2 separate regions of the Homo sapiens genome follow, and region 2 is linked to region 1. Evidence: promoter capture Hi-C in 16 types of primary human blood cells and fetal thymus (Javierre and others, 2016). All regions are on one chromosome and are shown on one strand. Each heading gives the region's core, a stretch centred on a gene start or on the middle of the fragment in contact. The rest is flanking DNA. Distances are from core to core; before and after follow the strand shown.

Region 1 (6,378 bases), core at 2,998-5,497:
ACATACAATATCGGGAGGCACATAAACAAAGCGGAAGGCATGGTCCCACCCACCAAGATGAGAGTTTATTGGGAATGTAAGAATATTACTCATCTCATATTCAACTTAAATTTTCCAGCTGCTTCATATTTCTGTCAAAAGTGAAAAACAAGGTAGTTATCAATGGGATGACTTTTGAGGTAATTTTTATTCTGAGCCTGCAAAAAATATTGTATTCAATGTATACAAAAAGTACCAACTGCATACCTGTAGCAAACAGACCAAGAGGAACCAATACATTCTGAAAATGCAACAGGGTAACGATTCTATATAAGATGTCAGGCTCTCTGCAAGCTTTGTAATTCTTAGTTTCTTCTCATTGCAACCTCTGCCTCCCGGGTTCAAGTGATTCTCCTGCCTCAGCTTCCTGAGTAGCTGGGACTACAGGCATGTGCCAGCACACCCGGCTAATTTTTGTATTTTTAGTAGAGACGGGGTTTCACCATGTTGGCCAGGCTGGTCTCAAACTCCTGACCTCAGGTGATCCTCCTGCCTCGGTCTCCCAAAATGCTGGGATTACAGGCGTGAGCCACCATGCCTGGCCGCAGGTTCTAATACTGAGTTCTGCTGTGACAATTCAAGTTCATTCCTAGATGTCCCTGTCTTACAAAGCTTTGTGAGGTGTGGCACCCTCTGCATGAGGCTTTGTCACAGTCATTATGCAAGGAGCTATGCAACAGGTTGCCTGCCGCCCAGATTTGAATTCTAGCTTTGCCACACACTCGCAGTGAGGGGATAACTCTAGGCGAGTGTCCAGTTTGTAGATAAAGCCCTTACTGAGGTGTACGAGGTGTACGGCACATAGTGAATGCTCAAGAGACACTAACTCATTACTGCAGAGGCAATATGATGATAATTTGGTAAATTCAAAATTTCTAGTCAAGACGGAGGGGAGAGAAGCCTTCTCAAAATTCTCCAGTGCTTCTCAATTTTCTCAGAATAAATCCCAAATTCATCCATGGAACTACAAAGCCCTGTCCTGGTTCCTCCCGCCTACCCTTCCCTACTTGTTCTGCTCCATTTACAAGAGCAACCGTTCCTCAATCACACCAGCCACGCTCCCACCACAGGGTCTTTGCAGTTGCCATTCTCTCTGCCTGCGGTGCTCTTTCCCTAGAAATCTGCACAGATTGCTTCTTTACTTCCTTCTGGTCTTGGCTCAGACGTGACCTGCTGAGTGAGCCCTTCTCCTACCACCCTGTTTAAAATGACACACTTCCCACCCACCTCTGCCACTCCAAATATTCCTCCCCCCCTTCTCAGCCTTATGTTCTCCATAGAATTTATTCCCCGCTTACACACAATAGCCTTTGTCTGTCTGTTCCCTCACTAGAAGGTAAGCTCCATGTGGGCAGGGAATCTTGCAAGTCTTGTTCACTGTTGGATCCCCAGCACCTAGAACAGCACTTGAAACTTAGCAGGTGCTCAAAAGAATATGCTCCACAAACGAATGAATGAATGAAAGCTCGGGTACAACAGGGTGCTGGGAACAACACCCTGGACACCCTCAAATTCAAAAGTCTCTCACAAACCCATTCCAATAAGGGTTAATTAGGTTAACCACTAGTTCTGAAATCAGAGACACCTTGGGAACATTCTATAACTCTTTGTAACCTGGCAGTAGTTATGCAAATCAGGTCATTATTTTCTCAGTACACGGGGAATGGATCACTTGGTGACAATGAAAGCATCAGTAGGAGAGTAGAGAGAAGGGCGCCAGCCATACCTCCTAGTTTTGCCTATAGTTGCAGGCAGGAAATTCCTGGGTGGCCCCTGACTCAAGATAACTGGTGTTTATTAAGAACCTGTCCTGTGTCAACCCCAGACCTGTAAACACTGTGTTCTGGCAAGAAAGACTGTAACTCTTAAACATGTACATGTGCTATTTTGCATGTAACTATTTTCTATAAATGTTGGCATCTTTCTCCAGAACCCTAAGCCTCATTCATGTCAAAAAACATGTGATCTTGCCAAATTAAGGTACTTCTATTTCTTCTGACCTTACATGCTCTCTTTGAGGTAAATACGGAGCTACCTCAATGTCTCAACTCTCTGTGAGGACTCTTTCTCCTTCGTTCAGGGGGCCCCTTTGCCCCTCCTGGTTGCCCAGGGAAACCTGCATATCTCAAGGGTGGAGGCAGGAGGGCGGAGAGGGGACTGGCCAGTGCCTGTCCTGCTGGCCTCCACTGGGGTGTTGCTCATCCTGGTAGTGCCTGGGCACCCGGGTGTCTTCTGTCTACTGAGGTGTGGCTGCTCTAGTCTCTTCTTTCCGGGCCCTGACAAGGCTTTTTGTGAAGATCTTGCATGGTGGAGGTGCAGAAATCCTGTCCCAACCTCAGTCCTCTTGTGGTTCAGCACTTTGGCATCAGGATTGCCCATATCCTACAGAGGGGCAACTGGGGGTCCGGGCATGGCACATCAGTCTAGACCCTTCTCCTGCCCCGTGCTCTGCTCCTTCCCCGGCATGTCCCCTCACAGCAGGCTCCTCTGAGAGGCGTGTAGTCAGTCGCCTGGGACTCCACCTTCAATGTCCTCAGATTCCCCTAGCTGGGTACCCCCATCTTATTCATAATTTATGTGGTGCTTGAAAGCTTTAGCTATGTGGCTATTTCAAACATCCTCCCCATATAATATCCTGTAGTCCGTAAATATTTACTATAAAAAGTAGTTTTCTTTAGAAAAGGTATACACCCCTCCCTGGATATCCACAGGGGATTGGTTCCAGAGCCTCTGCGGATAGCAAAATCTGCAGATGCCCAAGTCCCTAATACAAAATGGGGTAGTATTTGCATAGCTTCTATGTGTATCCTGCTGTATACTTTAAATCATCTCTCGATTACTTGTAATACCTTATACAATGTAAATGCTATGTAAATGGCTGTTATACTGTTCAAAATTTGCATTTAAAAATTGTGGTACTGTTATTTTTAAAAATTTTCCCCCCTGAATATTTTCCATCTGTGGTTGGTTGAATCCAAGGATGCGGAACTCCCAGATACCGAGGGCTGACTGCATATCGTTTTAGTGTGTGTCCAAAAAACTCAACAATTCTTACTTAGCATTCAGAGAAGCAACGGAGCGTAGCGTGGTGGTGAAGACAGGCAGTCCGGAGCCGCCCTGCTGAATGCCCGCTCCATTCCTCGCTGCCTGTGTGACCTTAGGGAGTTAACCTCTCTGTGCCCGTTTCCTTATCTGCAAAATGGGGATCGTGGTAGCACCCACCTCGTAAAAGTGTTGTGAGAATTAAACAGTTGATCCATTACGTGCTTAGAACAGCACTGGCACAAAGCGCGAGTGCCGTGGTGGCTGCTGTCCGTGTCATCACGGCCGTGGGAAGCACGCCAGGTGAGCAGGTGGCACAGGCCAGATGCTGCCGCCTGTGTATAGTTAAAGGAGCCTTTTACGGTCTGGCGATTTTACCTGTGTCACTGCAGCCACTTTCCTTCACCCCCTCCGAAGAATTTAGGATCTTGGACGCTGAAAGGAGAACGGAGTCAACTTCATCCTCTTCCCGGTGCTGCTTTTCTGTAACAGAACCGTCCGGGGCTGTTCTGTCGCGGGTCGTGGCGTGGCGGGGCTGAAGGTGGGGGCGGGGCAGAGGGATGGGGCGGGGCAGGGCTAACGGCTGGGGCGGGGCGGAGGGAATTAGGAGGGGGCGGGGCTGAAGGCTGGGGCGGGGGGGCGGGGAGGGCGGGGAGGGCGGGGCGGAGGGAATTAGGAGGGGGCGGGTTTGAAGGCTGGGGCGGGGCGCAGGGATGGGATGGGGCGGAGAGACTGGGCGGGACCTGTGGGGGCAGAGGAATGGGGCGGGGTCAAGGCTGAAGGCTGGGGCGGGGCGGAGGGATGGGGCGGAGGGACGGCATCAGGCCGGGCCTGGGGCGGGGCGCGGCGCTTTCCGCAAGCGGCCACCCGAGGGCGCGCTGGGCGGGCGGCGGCGGCAGACCACGTAGCCAGCCTGTAAGCCACAGCGGACGCAGGGGGCCGCAGCGGGTGCTCAGCCCTAGGGCCGAGCGGGAGATGTGCGGCGAGTGCAGAAGGGCGGACCCGGGATGTCCCGGGTTTTCGAGCGGGGAGCCGCCTGCTGAATGCCCTTCTGCTGCCCTCCGTTCCCGCGGCTCCCCTAGGAGCCCCGCCCCGTCCAACTCTTACCCGGGCTCATCGCCGCGGCTCATCTCTCTCGCAACCGCCGCCGCACGCACCCGCTCCGCCGCCCCGCGCAGGGCATCCTGTCGCCAGGTAACCGGGTGGCCGGGGCGCCGGCCCCACCCCCACCCTCGGCGGCGCGCGCTCGGCTGGGGTCCCTGGTGGGGTCCCGGTGGGTCCCTCCTCACTCCGGACGCTTCCCCGAGAGCTTCCCTGGGAACCTGGCCTGGGACAGCCCACCTGGGCGCCTCCCCGCACACGCGCGCGGCTGTCCGGGACGGGCTTGCTCACACTCGGACTCGCTGCGGTACCCGCCGGACCAAAGCGGTGCGGAGAAAGGGACCGCCCGGGGACGGACACACGCCTGAGAGCTTTCCCTTTGCCTTTCCACATCTCCACTTCATCGCTGTTGTTTTTTTTTTTTAATTCTTAGTCCTCTCATTTCAGCGCATCCCTCAGAGGAGTTTCAGCATTTGGGGATTTGAACGGCCCATGACCAATATTGTGAAAGGACTTTTGTTTGCTGCAATGAAAAGAAGACTCCTATTTTTCAATAATGAATTAACCTAAACATGTATTAAAATATGCTCATGAAAGCTGTGGGAAGCGACGGTGGGCTTCCTTTGTCTAAGCATGTTAATTTTTACGCACCTGGTGTATCACGTGCAGGATTGATGTTGCGTTCACGGGAAACCTGACCTCCTTTAACCAAGGACTGGGTGCGTGCCCCCAGCTAATCCTCCTGCCCATCAGAAAATGGTGCTCTTTAAAGTTTTAAACGAGTATATATTATTTATTTTGTAGTAAACCATCACACATAGAAAATTAAAATTCAAAATCACAATCACCAGGATATCATAATTTGCTATATAATAACATATAATATATAATAAGTAATACATGATGGCTTGCTTTCATTGAAATGAAACTTCTTATGATAGTTTCAGTGCTTACTTCCTCTAATTTGTTTCTTATAGAAATGGGCTCTAGTGCACGCGCCTGTAATCTCAGCTACTCAGGAGGCTGAGGCAGGAGAATCGCTTGAACCCAGGAGGCGGAGGTTGCAGTGAGCCGAGATGGCGCCACTGTGCTCCAGCCTGGGCAACAGAGCCAGACTCCGTCTCAAAAAAACAAAAAAAAACAAACAAAAAAAAAAAAAAGAAAAGAAATGGGCTCTAGGTCCGGCATGATGGCTCACACCTGTAATCCCAGCACTTTGGGAGGCCGAGGCGGGTGGATCACCTGAGGTCAGGAGTCCGAGACCAGCCTGACCAACATGGTGAAACCTTGTCTCTACTAAAAATACCAAAATTAGCCAGGTATGGTGGAGTACATTCGTAATCCCAGCTACTCGGGAGGCTGAGGCAGGAGAATCACTTGAACCCAGGAGGCAGAGGCTGCAGTGAGTCGACATAGTGCAACTGCACTCCAGCCTGGGCCACAGAGCGACACTCTGTCTCAAAAAAAAAAAAAAAAAAAAGAAAGAAAGAAAGAAAAAAATGGGCTCTAGAAGATTTGACTTTCTTGTGGCATTGTAGACAATTTTAATAAATTATAATTTTGAGAATTTATGGTCTGCATTGCTGATTGATATTGATGATTCAGGAGATAGAAATTATTTAGGCAGATAGGGCAAAAGAGTCTTCAGCAGAACTTCTAACAAAAAACAGCTCAAGAAATCATTTTTTTTTCTAACAAAGAGCAGCCTGAAAGCCTGCAAACCTTGCAAAGATAGATCAGGAAGCTGGAAGCGTGCACACCAGGGCGCAGGGGGTTGGGGGGCAGCGTGCGGGTGGATGCCAGCAGCTGCGCTGATAGAAAAGGGCTACCTGGGGGCCAGGCATGTCCACCATGGAATCTCCATCTCCCCTTTTTTGTTAGCACGTGTACAGTAAGAAAGAGATGGGCGATATGGAAAAGCTCAGTCAGAGAACCCACCTGCGTAGTAAAAGATTGGGGTGGGGGCTGCCAGAGATTCATGCCCTATGCAGATGGCACACCTGGTCCTAACTGGTTTTTCACGCCCTATGTAGATCAGACTGCCTCCCCATTAGCTCATCTATAAAATTCTATAAAAAATATTTCACAGCGAATTGGCAACCCGGGGACCCCTTTCTGTAGCGGAGAGCTTATTCCCTTTCTTGTCGCCTATTACATTTCGGCTCTTAACCTCACTCTTTGTGTGTCTGCATCCTT
Region 2 (5,856 bases), core at 3,357-5,856, 740 kb before region 1:
TTTTGAACACTGCAATTTGAATTTCATATCATGTTCACATATTATGACATAGTCTTTTTATTTTATTTCAACCATTAAAAAAGGTAAAAACCATTCTTAGCTTGCAGGGATATACAAAAACAGGTGGCAGGCTAGATTTGGCCCATGGGCCAGTTTGCCTAAACCTCTGACCTAGGGAAAGTGATGGGTCCTGTCTCCGGAAATATGCCCATATACCCAAAAGTTCATAAACAGTTTTAAGGGTACACATGTGTAAAAACTCCTGACTAAAGGACACCAGGGTTTAGAGTTCAATATACTGATACACCCATGAAGTCTGCTACCCCAAATCTAATGAAACATGAAAACATACATAAAATGAGAAAAACTTTCATGGTAGTTCCAGAAAATGTGGAAGGGTACTATTAACAGATACAAAAATAAGAAAATTCTGGAAGGTATAAAGGAGGTCAAATAAAATTGGCAAACCATATAAAAACTTGACCATTCAGATGCCCCCAGTGAAAGAATCATTCCTGGAGTGCTTGGGGGTGGAATGTGGAGAGAGCTGGCAGGTCTTCCAGCCCCTCCCAAGGCATAGGGGGCCTCCACCAGGGACTGCCTTGCAGAGGGAAGGACAGGAAAGCTGAATCCATTCCAGGCACTCTGGGCTTCCAGCTAAGGCTGGAGCTTAGAGAAATCCCTCCGAGGCACACTGTACTTTGGCTACCAATGGCAGGGGCAAGGCAGGACAGCTGAGAGAAATCCACCCAAAGAACCCGTGAAGTAATGCCGGGGTGGGAGCAGAGCGCTGAGCAAAACCCTGCAGGGGGATCCCAGGGTTTCCCAGAGGGGAAGAGAGCTATCGTCTGCAGGCTGGGGTTAAGGACTATGCAGGACAGAGAAAGCCCAGGGCAGAACAAGCAGAAGGAACTCCTTCCGGGGTGCCTGGCACTGTCATACACTGTTAATGTGAGATTACAATGTCAATCACACAAGCCACTGGAAAAAAAAACTGGAATTAGCTATCAAGAACGTTAAAGAAATGCACATGCCTTTAACATACATTTATTCTAAGACTCTAAAGAAAAGTAAACCTGTAATGTGAACTAAGTGGAGTATCATGAAATCATAAAACAATTCTTGAAAAGTACAATGAGGAGAAATGGCTTTAAGTGAAAAAAGCTTACAGCACTGTACAATTTTTACATGAAGTCAATTATCTAAACGAAAATAAAACCAAACTCGGCTCAGAAATAAAGGAAATTCTAAAACATTAACAAAAGTCATTTTATCCACTATACCGGAAAAAGTGTGAGGAAAATGAACACACTTTTTCACTACAATAAACATTGAACTTGCCAAGTGAAGTCTACAAAACTGAGGTACCCAAAAAATGTTATTTTGTACTGTCAATTTTGAGAAAACCACAACACAAAAAGGTAACTTACATCTTTCATGGAATGTGTTCTTTCTAAAGTGTTCTTTGAACGTCTTGCGCTATTAAACAGCAAAAAAACACAAGAGTTAGGAAATAGTTAAAATAACTGAGGAAACACCATAGTTATGACCCTTTCCGCGCATTTTTACCAAAAAAAAAAACAAGAACCCATATTCCACAAATTTATTTTTTATAGGTCAAATCCTATCACCAATGTATAAAATAACATACCTCTCCCCCTCAGGGACATGGAAAAGTTGGAATCCTGCTGTTAACTTTTTCCCTGAGGCCTTAATCAATCAGCAGTGATTGACTTTCTCTGCACAGCTGAACAAAGGGGAGGTAGGCTAACGCTAAGCCCCGACACCTGCTCCATCCGGTGCCTGGCTCTCCTACGTCCTTTTCTCATTTAATTCTAACAGTCCTATAAGGTAGAAGTGAATCCCATGTTACAGATGTGTGCTTGCCCACAGCAACACGGAGCCAGGAGGGAGACAAGCCTGCATTAAAATTTACATCAGTTCAAATCCAGGGCCTGCCCTCGACCTCCCTTGACACTCTCTCAGTTGGACCACAGCTTCAAATGATAAAGTTGTATATATATCTTCAACAAGCTTCAAGAAAACAAATGTAACAATGGTGACAAGAATAAAAACGGGAAATAACAGTGGCAGGATTATATATCATTATTACTAATAATAGTGCCAGCAGTCAGTGAATATGTACAGACTATCCTCCACCAACCAGGCATCGTACAAGGGTACGGGGGGGATACTCCAGGAGAATACAGTACATAATTAGACTTTAAAATATGCCATGCAGATTGCAGCCATATTTTTCTCATTTGTAGACAGCAAAATCAGCTTAGTCTAAACCAATGTTTTAGTATCCTTTTATCTGATATAATTTCAAGCTCACAGAAAAGTTGCAAACATAGCACAAGGACCTTCTGTATGCCCTTTACTCATGTGCTCTGTGTGTGTGTGTGTGTGTGTGTGTGTCTGGAGATACTGTGCACTTCCACCCCTAAATACTACAATATGTCTTTCCTAAGAGGGCATTATACTGCATATTCATGGTACAATTTCTAAAATCAAGAAATTTAACACTGATACCATAATCTAATCTACAGTCCATACCCAAATCACATCAATTGTCCTATAATGTCTTTTAAGATTGCCAGGCCAGCATTTTTAAAAAAACAAACAATAAAAAAGGAAAATATAAAATGAAGCATTGCACTGGATATACTATGTTCACAAGCCTTTTGTTTTATGTGTGGATGTGTGCACACGTGTACTAAGTGTGATGTAAAACATCATTACTGTGAATCACAGTTAAAAAAAAAAAGTTAGAAAACTGTTCAGAGCGGTGGTTCCCAGACTTGAGTGTCATCAAAATTCTCAAGAGGGCTTGTTGAACAGGTTGCTTGGCACCACCCCAGGAGTGTCTGATTCAGTCCCTCTGGGGTGAGGTCTGGGATTCTGCATTTCTAACAAGTTCACGATTTATTTATTTAATTCATGAAACCTAAGGAAGCAGGTAAGACAAGTATTGGTTTTATGGCAATTTTATAGATGATGATTCCGGGATTCAGAAAATTTAAGTGACTTATCAAGGGTCACATAGCCAGGTAACAGAAACCCAGCTACACACTAGACCACATAAACTTCTTAACCTAAACTCTTTGAGCTGTCTTGTCCTTTCTTGGGGGGGAAAAAAAGTCAAGGTTCCTCCTTGCCTTACGCTGGAGTCAAGGTGGGGCTTCTGAGAGACAGAAACCTCTGTGACAACCCACAGGTAAAATTTCTGGGCCAGGCGCGGTGGCTCATGCCTGTAATCTCAGCGCTTTGGGAACCCCAGGAGGGCGGATCACGAGGTGAGGAAATCAAGACCATCCTGGCCAACATGGTGAAACCCCGTCTTTACTAAAAATACAAAAATTAGCTGGACGTGGGGGCGAGCGCCTGTAATCCCAGCTCCTCTGGAGTCTGAGGCAGGAAAATCGCTTGAACCTGGGAGGCGGAGATTGCGCCACTGCACTCCAGCCTGGGCCACAGAGTGAGACTCCGTCTCAAAAAAAAAAAAAAAAAAAAATTCTGTTGTATGTGCGTAAGTGTGTTTTGGGAGGAGGCATGAACAGATTTCATGAGTCTCAAACCCAAAAATGTTAAAAGATAAAAATAAAAAAAGACAACAAAAACCACTAGCCTTTCAGATAAACTCTTTTCAGCTGACATTGAAGGCTGACATTCTCTTCTAATCCTTTTTTGCACTGGGGGAGTCTTCATTCTCCTCCACTGGCCACAGAAGTCTGGTCTCGGTTTCCCCACCCACCTGCGGTGTCCTGCTCCAGCTTTTCCACCCTAACCCCGCATCTACCAGCACCTCCTCCTCCAGGCAGCCTTCCCAGGCCCGGGGGAACTCCTGTTCTCTTCAGATCGTCTTGGCGTATGGCTTTGTGCACCGTCTGCAGCAAGCCGAGACCCTTCCCGCCAGATCCAGGCCGGGCCTTGGATGGCCATTCGCCAACGAATCAGCGACCAGCATTCTAGAGCGCGTTTTGCAACCGACCAAACGCTCGCTTTCTTTGGTAAACAAAAACCGCTCGAGCCATCCTGGAGAACCGCAAGCGGCAGCTCGGTCCCCCAGCCGGATTTATGCTCCAGTTTACGGTCTGTGGTTTGCAGTAAGAAAACACCAGGGTCTTCAAAATAAGAAAACTGATTCCCAGTCAGAGAATAAAACTCCACTAACAAAGTCTGGCAAACCGCAGGCAATACGTATTTGCTGAATATTTTGCTTTCAAGCTAGCACTTTGAGACTCACTACTTTGGACGGCACTCCCCCTCCCCACAAAACGACACGACACTGGCTGACGTCTCTCCCACCCGCCAGGCAGTGTTAGGCCCCGACAGGCCCGTGCAGGTGGGATCACTGTTATCCCCACTAGACTGAGGAGGAAGCCGGGGACCCGGGCGATTGGCCACTCGGGCGACCTCCACAGTGGAGCACCAACAGCGCCGGGAGGCGCAAACCACGGCAGGCGAGGAAGCAGTTCAAGCTGGTCTCCGGCCCCGCGCTCCCGAGGGTCGGCAGTACTTACCCCTCAGACCTGTGAGGCCGCGGCCGCCGCCGCCCCCGCGGGGCCATGGTGCCGCTCTCCGCTCTCGAGCGACTGGAAGCTCCCGCCAAGCCCCTCGCCGCTCCGAACAGCCAATCCGGGCCGAGCACGCGCGCGTGCGCAGGACTTCCTGAGCGGCCCCCGGGCTCCTCCCTGGCCTGGAGCGTGAGGGAAAACTGGGTCTGGTTATTACAGCGCAACGGAGCTGGAGTCCATGCCGCACAACCAGTTACCTACGGTCCAAAACATGCCAAAGTTTTCCGGGCTTTCGCGCCCACCCGCATCGCCAGTTTTCCGGCGCCAGAAAGCCCGGGAGCCACGTGGGACGGCCCCTTGTGGGGTGGGGAAAGGGGAGGAGCTAGTGTCCCTGAGTCGTGGGCAGGTAAGAGGGTGGGTGGAGACCCGTGTTCGCAGCTGTTGTCGCTGAGGCCGCAGTCGTCTTTCCAGGCCTACAGGATTTGGCTTCCAGCCCCTGCTGCCTTTATCAGCTGTCTGAGCTTAGCATGTTACTTTACCGCTATCCCAATACCTTCATTTGTAAATGGACAGGGTTCCTTTTGTTCTTTTATTTTGTTTGTGTTTAAAAATGTGTAATGCAGAAGAATGTAATTGAACCCTTACCTTACACCGCGTATAAAAATTAACGCAAAATGAATCAAAGACCTAACTATAAAGGCTAAAATTAAAACTCTTAGAAGAAAACAGAGCAAAAACTTCATAACATTGGACTTGGTATGATTTCTTGGATATGATACCAAAAGCAGTTTGGGATGATGAAAACGTTCTGGAAATAGTGGTGGATGGATGCACAAGGTGAAGGTACTTAATGCCACAATACTGTAAAGTTAAAAACGGTTAAAATGCTAAATTTTGTTATGTATATTTTACTACGACAAAAATATTACGTTTCATGCATATGAAAGAATATAACGTGTAATGTAAAGATAAAAACAAACATCCGTGTAACCAGCACTACATGGGGATATGGATCATTTTTATATATAACTCTTGGGTACCCCTCTGAATGGTATCCTCCTCCTCCAAAGAATAACCACTCTTCTGATTTTATGTGTATCATTCCTGTGGTTTTCTACCTTGATATAGCCCCAAATAATGTATTGATTATTGTATGTTTCTAAACTTTATATGATATTTGGTAGGTATGCTGCAAGTGCCCTTTCTTACTAAAGCTATTGCTTTTATTTTTTATTTATTTTATTTTTCCATAAATTATTGGGGTGCAGGTGCTATTTGGTTACATGAGTAAGTTCTTTTTTTTTTTTTTTTTTTTTTTTTGAGTTGGAGTTTTGCT

Evidence for each region. Contacts are between HindIII fragments. The CHiCAGO score rates a contact against its expected background, and 5 or more counts as called.
Region 2: the fragment with the promoter of CENPU here is called in contact with the fragment with the promoter of CCDC110 in region 1 in 2 of 17 cell types (non-activated CD4 T cells and total CD4 T cells); the score reaches 6.7 in non-activated CD4 T cells.

The regions. Positions count from the first base shown.
Region 1 is chr4:185,467,486-185,473,863 of GRCh38, forward strand. It overlaps CCDC110 (coiled-coil domain containing 110), which reads right to left and starts at 4,248. Exons shown (of 7, transcript NM_152775.4): 1 at 4,189-4,248; 2 at 3,460-3,564. The coding sequence starts at 4,198. It overlaps LOC105377590 (a long non-coding RNA gene), which reads left to right and starts at 3,946. Exons shown (of 2, transcript NR_133944.1): 1 at 3,946-4,275; 2 at 4,630-4,778. RefSeq lists a silencer at 3,833-4,462. The HindIII fragment of the contact is 5,122 bases long and covers 2,629-6,378 here.
Region 2 is chr4:184,729,490-184,735,345 of GRCh38, forward strand. CENPU (centromere protein U) reads right to left here and starts at 4,607. Exons shown (of 13, transcript NM_024629.4): 1 at 4,527-4,607; 2 at 1,431-1,479. The coding sequence starts at 4,573. RefSeq lists enhancers at 4,047-4,913, 4,064-4,183 and a silencer at 4,554-4,613. The HindIII fragment of the contact is 4,927 bases long and covers 2,033-5,856 here.